Linked DNA regions of Homo sapiens: region 1 is linked to region 2. Evidence: promoter capture Hi-C in 16 types of primary human blood cells and fetal thymus (Javierre and others, 2016). All regions are on one chromosome and are shown on one strand. The core of a region is centred on a gene start or on the middle of the fragment in contact, and the rest is flanking DNA. Distances in the headings are between cores, read along the strand shown.

Region 1 (6,311 bases), core at 1,535-4,034, 560 kb after region 2:
TCCTGGCACTGCGGGCTCAGCTGGCCGAAGGCTGGCAAGAAGCACTGGTTCATATGTACTATGATTGGATTGGAAGATGGTCCAGTCATCACCAGGCAGTGGCCCTGGTTCTAGGCGGCTGGGGCGTGTGAGATGCAGTAGCGGGGCAGAAGGATTCACTTGGTAGTCCCGGAGCCCCAAGTTTGAGTGTAAAAAAAGGGGAAAGCCCTTGAGCTGGGCGCTCAGTAGGCTGTGCTCGTGGGCTCGGAAAAAGCCAATGATGCCCACACCATACTCCACGCAGTACCGGTCTAGCAGTTCCCGACTCCAGGCATCCAGGTTGACATACTTGAGCAGGTTCTCATAAATGACCAAGACATAGCGGCCATGGGTATTATCAGTCAATGTGGGCATGTCCCCTCGGCCAGGTGCCAACTCAGTGCTATAACGAAAACGACTAGACTCCAGGATGGCCACAATTTCCTGCCCCAGCTGTGAGTATGCACTCTCCACAAACACAAGGACCACGGGTTCAGTTCGAGCTGTCTCTGGAGGCCTGGGGGGCCGAGGTGGAACTGGAGGCCGTGCAGGGCCAGGACCAGCTGCCCCACCGCTGCTGCAGTCTCCCAAGGGCAGGGGCAAGGGTTCCTTGGCCTTAGGGCTGGTGGACACATAATAAGCCAGGAAGCCCATGGAGCCCAGGCTGAAAGCGATCAGCAGCAGTATGAGGCGGTGCAGTTCCAGCTGCCGAGCTGGGCGTACCACCTTCCACAACTGGAGCATGGCGGGGGGAGGAAGGGAGGGAGGAATGGGGACCACCTCAGGGGATGGGAGGTAGGAGTTCTATAGGCTAGGACTGTCTTGGAAGGGTAGAAGGATAGGAAAATAGGGGACAGGGATTCCCTTGGGGAGTTTCCTTTACGAGGTGGAGACGAGTCCCCTTAGCATAGGGTAGGGGAGGTAGAAGGGGAAGCAGGGGGCAACTATACAGAGTCCACTTGTCTCAGGTCACCATGGCCCCCTGGCCCATGGCTTCAGGCTGCAAATCTTGCCAGGCTCTCCCCTTGGCCCTGGCTGAGCGCCTCACATCAAAGGTCAGCAAAGTTCAATCTCTTCCCCTCTACCTGTAAGACAGAGAAATCAGTGGGTTACTCCTCCCTCTGAAATTGTCATTAATCCATTCTCCTCCCCATCCCATCTCTCTTACCTCCTGCTTACTGGATAATCTGTTCTCAAAAAAAAAAAAAAAAAAGTTTCCTCTAGGAGAATCTACAAGCTGAGTCCTATACCTTAGCTTCACAGCTTGTTCCCTTTCCCTTTCTTAGAATACCCAAATGAATGTCCAAATTCTCCTCTCTAAGCAAAGCTCAGAGATGGAGCAGTATATGCAAATGATAGGAACAAATCTCCCATCAACAAGAGGCTAAATATCCTAGAAGGCTAAAAACAGGCCTGCTCTGAAAGGAGTTCCTAGCCCATGACCGAGCAGCTGGCAGCCAGCAACAGCTCTGATCTTTCTGTGAGGAAGGGACGGAAAGCCCCGGAAGTCTTCAGAAGTCCCATGCTCCAACAAAATATCAGATAAGGAACTCATGAGTCTGTTAATCTTCTCATCAATCAAACCCAATATCACAGCCAACAGCTTTAACGAACTTGCAGTCAGGTGGACACTATGGTGGGGGAGTTCAAAAGGAAAGAGCAATCCTCATGATAGGTAATCATTCTACCAGTTTCCAAACCCAGAAATTAGGGACTCCCTTACCCGTTGCTTGTGAAACATTACCTGCCCCTGACCTTCACCTCAACTTTGCCAGTCAGGAGATAAAAATGTAACCCCTGAGCAGGCCACACACTGGGTGCTGAGAAAAGCCATACAGCTGAGTCCACTCTACTTCTCCTTCCTAACTTAGCCTAAGTAGTTCTACAACCCTATTCCTAAACAGCTCAGAAGAGTCCCTGAGCTAGTCTGGAGAGACATGAGGTATTGAGTCCAGTTACACAAACAGAACAACTTGAGTAAGGACTGGATGACAGAGAGCAACAGGAGCTTAAGTCACATCCAACCAATGACAGAAGGAAAAAGGACAGTGTGATCAGAAAACAGTTTTAAGGAGGTCTAATTTTGGGGATCTCTTTTATTATTTTTAGATGGAGTCTTGCTCTGTCACCCAGGATACAGTGTGCTAGTGTGATCATAGCCTACTGCAGCTTCAAACTCCTGGGCTCAAGTGATCCTCCCACCTCAGCCTCCCATGTAGCTGGGACTACAGCTTTGCACCACCACACCCTACTAATTTTTAATTTTTTTTAGAGATGGGGGTCTTGTTACGTTGCCCAGGCTGGTCTTGAACTCCTGGGGTCAGACAGACAATCCTCCGGCCTCAGCCTCCTGAGTCTGTTCTTTTTCTTAAATCGACTGCTTCTGTAAGCTTTATTGTCACTATCCCCACTCAGCCTCCTTGTAAGGCTGGCAATCCCTCTCTACCACCCACCCCCAAACACACATCTCAGGGGTGATAAGGCAGAGCTGAGGTCCTTCAGAATTGACAGAGATGATTTAAAAACAGTTCAGGACAGGCGTGGTGCCTCACGCCTGTAATTCCAGCACTGTGAAAGGCCGAAGCGGGTGATCACTTGAGGTCAGGAGTTCGAGACCAGCCTGGCCAACATGGTGAAGCCCCGTCTCTACTAAAAATACAAAAATTAGATGGGCATGGTGGTGGGCGCCTGTAGTCCCAGCTACTCAGGAGGCTGAGGCAGGAGAATCACTTGAACGTGGGAGGCGGAAATTGCAGTGAGCTGAGATTGTGCCACTGTACTCCAGCCTGGGTGACAGAGCTAGACTCCAGCTCAAAAAAAAATAAAAATAAAAATAAAAATAAAACAGTTCAGCTTTGGCCTAGGTAAAACGACACGAGAAGACAGCTGGGGGAGAGGATCAAAATGGTGACGGGAAGGGGTGAATGCTAAGAATGTGATGCAACTTTAGAGAAAACATTGTAGTGAGGAGGTCACTGACGGGAAGTTGATACTCAGGGTGTATCATCCCGTATTTGAGAAATTACAACTTGCCAGCCATTCTTCTAAGAGCTTCACATATATTTAATCTTCACACCAGCCCTAAGAGGTAGGGAAAAGGTACATGCTCCATTATCCCCATTTCACATATGAGTAACTCAGAGAAGCTTAGAACCTTGCCCAGGATCACACAGCTCAGTTGGTGGGAGGGCTGGGATTCGACGTCAGGCCTGTCAAGCTCCAGAGCCGCGTTCTTAGCCGCTGCATTTTAGCTTCATACCTGGAAGAAGCAGCAAGGTTTAGGGAAGGGGCGCCGGGAGCGCCGCAGGCCGGGCCAGTGAACACTGAGGGCCAGCAGGGCTGGGCGGGGTGGGTGTGTGCGGGAGATCTCTGAGGACGGCGAAGCCAGACGGGGGCCGGGGCCGGGCCCGGGCTTGGGGAGGCCGGGACGGCCGGAGCAGCGGCGCGGAGGCTGCGGGCGCCGAGGGGGCCCGGGGCTGGCGGGTGGAGGGGCCCCGCCGAGAGGAGACGGGGGCACAGGTGGATGCGAAGAGCGCACCGGATGTGGGACACCAAAGGGGAAGGGGCCACAGGCGCGCGGCGGCGACTCCGGGGTGACATCGAGACAGCCTCTGGGCTGGGAGAGCCCTGCGGGAAGAAGGGAGCCCGCCCGGTCCGGAGGGGAGCGAGGCGGTTCTGAGGGAGGCCGGCGGAAAGGACCCGGGGCGCGGCGCACGCTGGGCCGCCCGGGACGACCCTGCGGGTGGTGATGGTGGCAACATCCAAGGGAGTCTGTTGGGGGGGCCTGAGCGCGACCGTGGGCGGGGGGGTCTCCTCAGGGGCGGCTCACCCGGAGGACTGGGCGGCGTCCCCGCTGTCCCCGGGCTCCGCCGCGTCCCGGGGCTGCCCGGCTTCCCTGCTTTCGGGGCCACGGGCCGCGTCGCGGCTGCTCCGCCATCTCCGAGCGAACGCTCTGCCGCAGCCTGGCCCAACCACCGCTCCCACCGGGGGAGGCGGCGCGCCGCCGCTGGTGGCACCCGCTCGGATCCACCGGCTCCGGCCCTAGCAGCCGCGCGACCTGGGTTCCGGGAAATCAAGCGGCCCTCCGCAGTGCCGGGCCGAGCCGCGGCCTCCGAGACGGCGGGCTCCGCGCCCCGCCCGCGGAAGCGCACCCCCTCCTCTCCGCGCGATGGCACTGCCGGCCGAGCGTCGGGGACCACGACTTCGGAGCAGGGGCGGGCTCAGGCCTGGGCTCATCCACTCAGCCCCGCGGAGGGGGAGCCGGGCCGGCCCACTCGGGGGAGGGGAGGAGTAAGAGGCGGAGCGGCCTAACCGGAGGCGGGACCAGGGGCGGGGCGAGGCCCTCAGCCGGCTCCCAGGGCACTCACCCTCCCTCCCCGCCCCGCGTCGCCTGCGCAGCACCGAGCGCTGTTTGGAGGCTGTTTATGAGAAGTTTTTTTTTTTTTTTTTTTTTTTTTTTTTTTTTTTTGAGACGGAGTCTCACTCTGTCGCCTGGGCTGGAGTGCAGTGGCGCGACCTCGGCTCACTGCAACCTCCCCCTCCCAGGTTCAAGCGATTCTCCTGCCTCAGCCTTCCGAGCAGCTGGGATTACAGGCGCCCGCCACTATGCCCAGCTAAATTTTTTGTATTTTTTAGTAGAGACGGGGTTTCACCATATTAGCCAGGCTGGTCTCGAACTCCTGACCTCGTGATTCGCCCGCGTCGGCCTCCCAAAGTACTGGGATTACAGGCATGAGGAAGTTTTATTCTCAAAAGTACCCAAAGGGAGTAGGAGGAGGTACTCTCTCCAACCTGGTAAGCCAGGCTGCTAAAATCTACGCCTCTGGCCGTAAACCTCCAACAGCAGTAACACAATGGACTGTTTAAAGGTTATTTTATTAAATATTTTCAGTTCAAGGTTTCATTGTAACAAAGCTATGAAGGGTCTACCAACATTCAGAACAAACACTATTTTTAAATTATTTCTATGTTGTCATGCAAAAATTCTGCATCAAATGCCTTCCGTTTCTTGTTTAAAAGGTGATTTTTTAATAGTCTATTGTCTATAGATGCTGACATTAGCCCCAGAAGAGGAGTAAGAATGCTAAGAAGTGGGGCTGGAGCAGCCATATGAAGCTATGGGTCTCAATGAATTCTAAGACCATTTGTCTTCAAGCCAGCAAAACGAAACCCTGTGGTGAAGGGATTTGCGTGCTGGCACTGCAGACTGCAGGGCAGGAAAGGGCTAGGGCCCAGGGGCTGGGACATGCATGAGGTGCTCGGAGGAGCCTGGCTAAATCCAAGCACCAGCACCTGTGAGTCTGCTCTCTTCTCAGCTGGCTCCCAAGTAAACCTGTAGCTTTGCCTCTTCTCCCAGCTCTCGTGCCTCCTGAAGGTAGTCCAGGGAACTGGAATCTACCCACCTTTCCCCCAAAAGTGGAGATGTTTGTGCAGATAAATCTGCAGCGTTGTTTTGAGGGAAACCAAGGCCATGACCAATTGCTCCTCCATTATCTTCTTTGCTATCTGCTTAGGGTATAGATCTCTTCCTCCTGGAATGGAACTCCTTGAGCACAGAGAGGGACAATGAAGGTAGAAGCCTTGGCTCTGGACACCTCTTTTGGGTTACATGCGGGGAGGGGTGATGCCCATGCAGATTGTCCAGCAGTAAGTCTATACTTCAGTTGGTCAGTAAAGAGGCCTCTGTAAGGACACCTCTTCTTCTTGCCAGAGCAGTCAGGTCAATCTCAAAGACAGGAAAAGAGATGGACGTGCAGCAAGGAAGAATAAGAAGGGAGGCAGCCCCAAAGGCAGCCTGAATGCATAGAAACGACCACCACCTCTTCTCCCACTGCCTCACTCCTCCCATCCCACAGGGGCACTTGGCAGAGGGCCCAGGCCCAGATGAGGGTCAGCATGGGGACCACTACCGTGAAAAGGCAAGACAAAGATGGTCCAGATCAGCACAGAAACAGAACCGCCAAAGGCGGCACGGGAGCCCTGACCAGGGCCTGGCTCTCTCCTTGCCAGGTTAGAAGAAAACACGAAGCAAAGCAGCAACAACCCCTCCCCCTCCTAGCTGCAGGGATAAGGCCTCAATATTAGGGCCCACATGCATTGTGCATCCTATAGAAATGGATGAGTGAGTGCATGTCAGACTAACACGAGGTTTCTCATCGGCTTCATGGCGGGTACACTTCTGCAGCACCAATTCTCTTCCCTTCTACACTAAACAAGACAGTACAGCAACGTCCGGGCTCTCAGTCCTGAGGCCACCACTTCTCAGCTGCCTCCACAGCAGGCTGGGAGCTCTG
Region 2 (5,804 bases), core at 2,320-4,819:
CAGCCAGCTAATTTTTTAAGTTTTTGTAGAGACGGGGTCTTGCTGTGTTGCACAGGCTGGTCTCAAACTCTGGCTTCAAGTGATCCTTCCACCTCAGCCTCCCAAAGTGCTGAGATTACAGGTGTGAGCCACTGCCCCAATGGTATCTTTATATTATTTTTCCTTACAAGTTACTTCAAATTCTTGATGTTGAATTTCATCTCACTGACTTCAGGCTTTTAAAACACATGGGAATACTTGAGACCTAAGAATGGTTGTGAGTCAAATAAAAAAGTAGAACTAAAGTATACTGAAGTTATTCAAATACATTCAAACTATAAAGATCCCTTATAGATTACTGGCATCAAGGTAGGAAGGAAAAGATACAAGAAGTAAAATGCAACACTCATTACAGGTTGTCAACATTATTGGTATACAGTTTATCCTAACACAGAGCAGCCTTCTTAACCTGCTCCATAAAATTACCAGCAAGAAAGAAAAGTACAAGAATAAGGTTCACAGCTGAATTGGCTTGGTGTCCTAATTCCCTATTCCAGTATTCTCAGAAGGATCCCATCTATGATATATGCAGAAATCACAGCCACATTTGAATGGTTCAATCTTGATTCATACTGAACTCCCTTAAGCCCAGCAGTTTCTCATTCTTAAAAGGTAGGTTATTAGAGCCCCAAAGCAATTTTCATAACAAATCTACCTTTGTATATTTAAGAATATGCATTAAGGCTAGGAGTGGTGGCTCACGCCAGTAATCCTAGCACTTTGGGAGGCCGAGGTGGGCAGATCACAAGGTCAGATTGAGACCATCCTGGCCAACACGGTGAAACCCCATCTCTACTAAAAATACAAAAATTTGCCCGGGCGGTGGCTCACGCCTATAATCCCAGCACTTTTGGGAGGCCAAGGCGGGCGGATCACGAGGTCAGGAGATCAAAACCATCCTGGATAACATGGTGAAACCCCATCTCTACTAAAAATACAAAAAAATTAGCTGGGTGTGGTGGTGGGCACCTGTAGTCCCAGCTACTCCTGGGACTACTCGGGAGGCTGAAGCAGGAGAATGGCATGAACCCAGGAGACAGAGCTTGCAGTGAGCCGAGATCGCGCCACTGCACTCAAGCCTGGGCGACAGAGCGAGACTCCTCTCAAAAAAAAAAAAAAAATTAGCTGGGTGTGGTGGTGCATGCTTGTAGCTCCCCGGCTACTCAGGAGGCTGAGGCAGGAGAACCTCTTGAACCCAGGAGGTGGAGATTGCAGTGAGCTGAGATTGCACCACCGCACTCCAGCCTGGCAACAGAACAAGACTCCGTCTCAAAAAAAAAAAAAAAAAGAGAATATGCATTAGGCAAGACAATATAAACCTCCAATTACAAAAATCAATTAAGAAAGGTTAACTGTTCTTGCACTTGTGGGATGAACATGAAGATCTGAATGGGCCATGAATAGTCTGGCTGGGGGTTTTGAAGCAGGAAGTCTTGGAAGCCAGTAAATTGTAAAGTTGTCCAAGAGACCCAGAGCCCAACTCAAAAGTCCAATCCTCCCATAGCCACTGTCTATCCCAAGACAAAGTCGAAAAAAGCTAATTAGTACCCACACCCAGCTCTAAGTCACACAAGAACAAATCTCTCCCTGGGCCCTGTGCAGGCCAGGCCAGAAGAGCAAGGGCAACTCAGGATACTCCATTTATTGAACTCCAAATCTAACAAAATTAAGATCGCTGCAGTGTTTCAAAAGGACCTTGACCTTGTTCCCACTGCTATGCTCACTAAAGTCAGCTCATTTATGTTTCTGTAGCCTCTGTATCTGTAGCTTCTGCATCTGTTTTCTGAGAAGCTAACAGGACTTCACGTGCCCGTTTCCTTCGCAGTCTCTCAGCATTTGTGATCATCATAGGATGCAGAGGGAAAAAGCCAGCAAGACCTAAAAGTAACAGATTTTTCACTTATTATAACACAGTATAAGCCAATGCTTCCCTAGGAACTCTGTCTCACAGAACTGAGGTCTGAGATCTGACCCAGTGCATGGATGCAAACCATGCTCCTCACTTGCCAAACTCTGTACTACTTCTCCCCGGCAAGGAGACAGTGGATGTCTACTTCCCTAACAATATTCCCCTTACTTTAAAAAACGTAAACTGACAGATGGCCATTCAAAACATACTATTCCTATTTTTAGCATAAAATACCAGTCACCCAAAGTCTTACAAAGGAGTCCACAAAAGGGGCCTCCAGATTCAAAATGCCAATTAGATCACAACTTCAGCTCCCACTTCAGTCCTGAACAGCCTAGAGGGAATGAAATAACTCTTTTTTTTTTTTCTTTGAGATGGAATCGCCCTCTGTTGCCCAGACTGGAGTGCAGTGACGCGATCTTGGCTCACTGCAACCTCCGCCTCCTGGGTTCAAGCGATTCTCCTGCCTCAGCCTCCCCAGTAGCTGAGACTACAGGTGCGTGTCACCACGCCCAACTAATTTTTTTTTTTTATTTTTAGTAGAGACAGCGTTTCACCATGTTGGCCACTCTGGTCTCAAACTCTTGACCTCAGGTGATCCGCCCGCCTCGGCCTCCCAAAGCGCTGAGATTACAGGCGTGAGCCACCGTGCCCAGCCGAAAATCATTCTTACACCTACTGTCCTGGAGCTGACTTCAGTTTAAAATCCCCTCAATAAGGTAAGACCAGAGCTGAGTTACCCAGAAGCTTTTCCATAGGCTTAGAGAGGTGGGCCCCGCAGCCAATCCAATGACGGATCCTGTCTAGGTTGAGGGCAACGAGTTTTTCTCCATGACTGTTGGGCAATGGATCATAGGAGCCCAGCTGCTCTACGAAACGGCCATCCCTGGGACACTTGTTGTGAGCAGCCACAATGCGGTAGAACGGCCGATTGGTGCAGCCACCCAGGGCAAGGCGGATGGTTAAGTGGCCCCCACGGTAGGCCTTGCAGAGGAGAGTAGCTGTAGAAAAGCAGCTGGTTAGGACACAAAAAACAGCACAAAAAGGACAAAATGACACAGACGGCACAATTCCCTTTTCCCACTGAAATGTCTCACTTCCAATCCATTCCTGTCAATCCAGTTTAGATGCTACTCTTCTTTGTGAAACCCCTCTTGGCCAGTCCAGCCAGCAATGACCTCCTCCTCATACCCAAACCCACCCCGCATGGGCTTGCCATTCACTAGGCTCTGTGACCTTGTCGGAGCCTTAGCTGCTTCAATGGGGTGGAAATTTTTCAGCGGTGATTAAGTGGGGAAAAAACTGAGAGAAGGATCAAATGTAAGGCAGTGTGGCTGCTTCAGGTTCGGGTTGCCTCCATCGCGCCTGGGAGAGCTCTCCCCACCCGGCCCCGAACTCCCGAGCCCCGTGACCGCCCGGAACGTCTCGCGGTGGCCCGATGACTCACTGAGGTGGACCATGGTGCCGCCGGCGTGCGGCTCCTCGGAGAGCCCCGCTACCCGCACGCACCAGCTCTACGGCCTTGGCAGGGCAGAGAACAAACACAGAAAGAACCTGCAAGCCGACACCAGGCCGCACCGCCAAGCGGTACAAGCCCGAAAACCTCGACTCCGGAAGCGGATGATCCGCTCGCCACGCCTCCTCCGCTTGCCGCCCTATACTTCCCACAATGCAACACGGTGACCCCTAACGTACCTTAAACTGCTGCAAAAGAGGCGTTTCTCGTGGTGTCTTGTGGGAGTGGCGGTGCGATCCCTCTCAGACTTGTGAGTCCCTGCTGGAGTCAGAAGTTTTAGGCGAATCCCAGGCGCGCCAAGGAAAGTGCTACAAAAGCCATCCATCTTGCAAGCGTTGGTGCCGAGGCGCAACGCTGAGAACGCAAATACTAAAGGGCGCTGTTCTTTCCTCGTGGAGCTCACAGTCCGCTGGGGAGACCGTGAGATGACAGCAGAGAAACTAGCGCGATCAGTAGTACTCAGCGCAAGGACAGCGAGCAGAGAAGGCAAACCTAGTGCTTGCTAAGGAAGACTTCACAGAGGAGGTAGTGTCAGGGCCGAGACTAGGAGAAGGATTGTAAGTGACTAGATTTTACTTTATCCTTCTCGTTAACCAAAATTAATTTACCTCTCACCTTTTCTCCTGTTGTCGTCCCACCCCTATCGAGGCAGTCACACCTTAAAAAAAAAAGGAGGGGTTATTCCTGCTTTTGCCGTGCTGTGATCCAGGGCAGAGGTGAAGTATGATTTTTTTTTTTTTTATCTGTAGCCCTAGAATATGACCTCGGTGATGAGGGTAACGGTGTCTCCTTGGAGCCCTAGTGGTTTAGATCCATGAAGATGCCTGTGTTTGGTGAGAAGGTGTCAATAGCTCCACCTTCAGCAAAGACCTCTCTGTTCAGCTTTTTCGTTTACTGTTAGTTCCAAAGGGCTAGCATGCTCTTTGCCCTAATACAGTGACCCAGCATAGCAGTCTTCCTCCAGGGCCACCTTTGAAAATGATGCCTTAATTCCTGTATTTCAGTTAACTGAACCTGTCCAGAAACCTTAGCACCTGACTTCCTCCAGGAGTGATCCAATAAGCTTTCATCAGAAACCCTAATAATGACCCCACTATACCTTAATTTTATTGTATGTATATATATGCCATATAATTATTATAGCAATTACACTATAGTTATTTATATAACTAAATACCTACATGTAACTCAGTATACGTTAACTCCAGAACCATGCTGATGAATTTTGAGTTTCATATCTCCATTTTTTTATTGTGACCCAGTTTCTCGTCAACCAGTAAAACATCCAGTAACACAGCCAATGGAAATAAATGAATGGGTCTCTGTTTATAGTGAAGATTCTTTCGTTCTCCAGCTCCAGGCTTCATACGGTAAAACTCTCTGGGAAGGAAAGGAACTCAGAGTCCCATGCAGAAAATTGTTCAGCTGGAGGGGTATCAGAAAGATGGATTTCCAAAGCCAACTGTTTCCTGTAGTGTGTGGATCTCTGCAAGCAGAGCCTCATCTTTCAATTTCAGCTACATGAAAGAGGAAGAAAGGGAAAGATATATGTCATACGTGATATACTTTATGTGGCTTTGAAGACCCCTCTTTTGTGGGGCTACGGCTAAAGAACATAGTTCCCTGGGATGGAATTGGCTCTTCCTATTTCCCTACTTCATGAAAACTCCAGTAGAAGACCTTAGAACCTTGTCCTGGTTACATGGATATGTTTACTTTGTGAAAATTCATCAAGCACTATGCACGGTCATGATTTGTACATTTTTTTGTAAGATAACTTCATTAAAATTTACTTTTTTTATTTTTAAAAAGTGTTCACATTATTACCAGCATCTCTTGGCTAATGCATAGTATTCCCATCTGGCAAGTGATATCAGGGAATCAGAGACAGAAATCATAGGCTTATATTAGATCTGGTTTTAGTTTTAGAATCTAGATATGTAGTAGAGACATCTAGGAGCCTACAGAATACCTATTTTTTCTTACTAACAAAATCTTAATTTCTTTTCAAGGCAGTAATGCAGTCAGCTAAAAAGCCACATTTTCCTGCTTCCCATGCAGCTAGAGGTAGTCATGACCAATTGCCACCCAATGAAATGTAAACTAAAGTCATTGGGTAGGACACCTGGAGAAGCCCTTTATTTAGGGAAAGTCCTTTAAAGGGAACTGAAGTAGCATGGCCCCTTTTTCCTTTTCCCCTTATTGTTCTTTATCTTGCCTGAAACATGAATATGATAGTAAGCTACGCTGGCTGTCTTGCAACTATGAGGGATAGAAACTGCAGGCTACAATTGGTGGAGCACAAAGATAGATTTTGGGTCCCTGATGACATTGTGGAGC

What was found. Contacts are between HindIII fragments. The CHiCAGO score rates a contact against its expected background, and 5 or more counts as called.
Region 1: a fragment that was not itself captured here is called in contact with the fragment with the promoter of MRPS16 in region 2 in 1 of 17 cell types (fetal thymus); the score reaches 6.6 in fetal thymus.

Annotation. Positions count from the first base shown.
Region 1 is chr10:73,807,627-73,813,937 of GRCh38, forward strand. It overlaps NDST2 (N-deacetylase and N-sulfotransferase 2), which reads right to left and starts at 3,972. Exons shown (of 15, transcript NM_003635.4): 1 at 3,848-3,972; 2 at 3,173-3,277; 3 at 1-1,103. The coding sequence starts at 762. It overlaps NDST2-ZSWIM8-AS1 (NDST2-ZSWIM8-AS1 readthrough), which reads right to left and starts at 4,194. Exons shown (of 18, transcript NR_182658.1): 1 at 3,848-4,194; 2 at 3,173-3,277; 3 at 1-1,103. CAMK2G (calcium/calmodulin dependent protein kinase II gamma) reads right to left here. Exons shown (of 23, transcript NM_001367534.1): 23 at 4,875-6,311. RefSeq lists silencers at 3,407-3,476, 3,777-4,486. The HindIII fragment of the contact is 756 bases long and covers 2,407-3,162 here.
Region 2 is chr10:73,249,075-73,254,878 of GRCh38, forward strand. MRPS16 (mitochondrial ribosomal protein S16) reads right to left here and starts at 3,570. Exons shown (of 3, transcript NM_016065.4): 1 at 3,396-3,570; 2 at 2,689-2,949; 3 at 1-1,917. The coding sequence starts at 3,408. The coding sequence ends at 1,778. It overlaps CFAP70 (cilia and flagella associated protein 70), which reads right to left. Exons shown (of 28, transcript NM_001367801.1): 28 at 4,688-4,981. The coding sequence ends at 4,901. All of the region lies in intron 2 of DNAJC9-AS1 (DNAJC9 and MRPS16 antisense RNA 1), which reads left to right. RefSeq lists enhancers at 3,289-3,856, 3,296-3,585, 3,706-3,965. The HindIII fragment of the contact is 1,832 bases long and covers 2,694-4,525 here.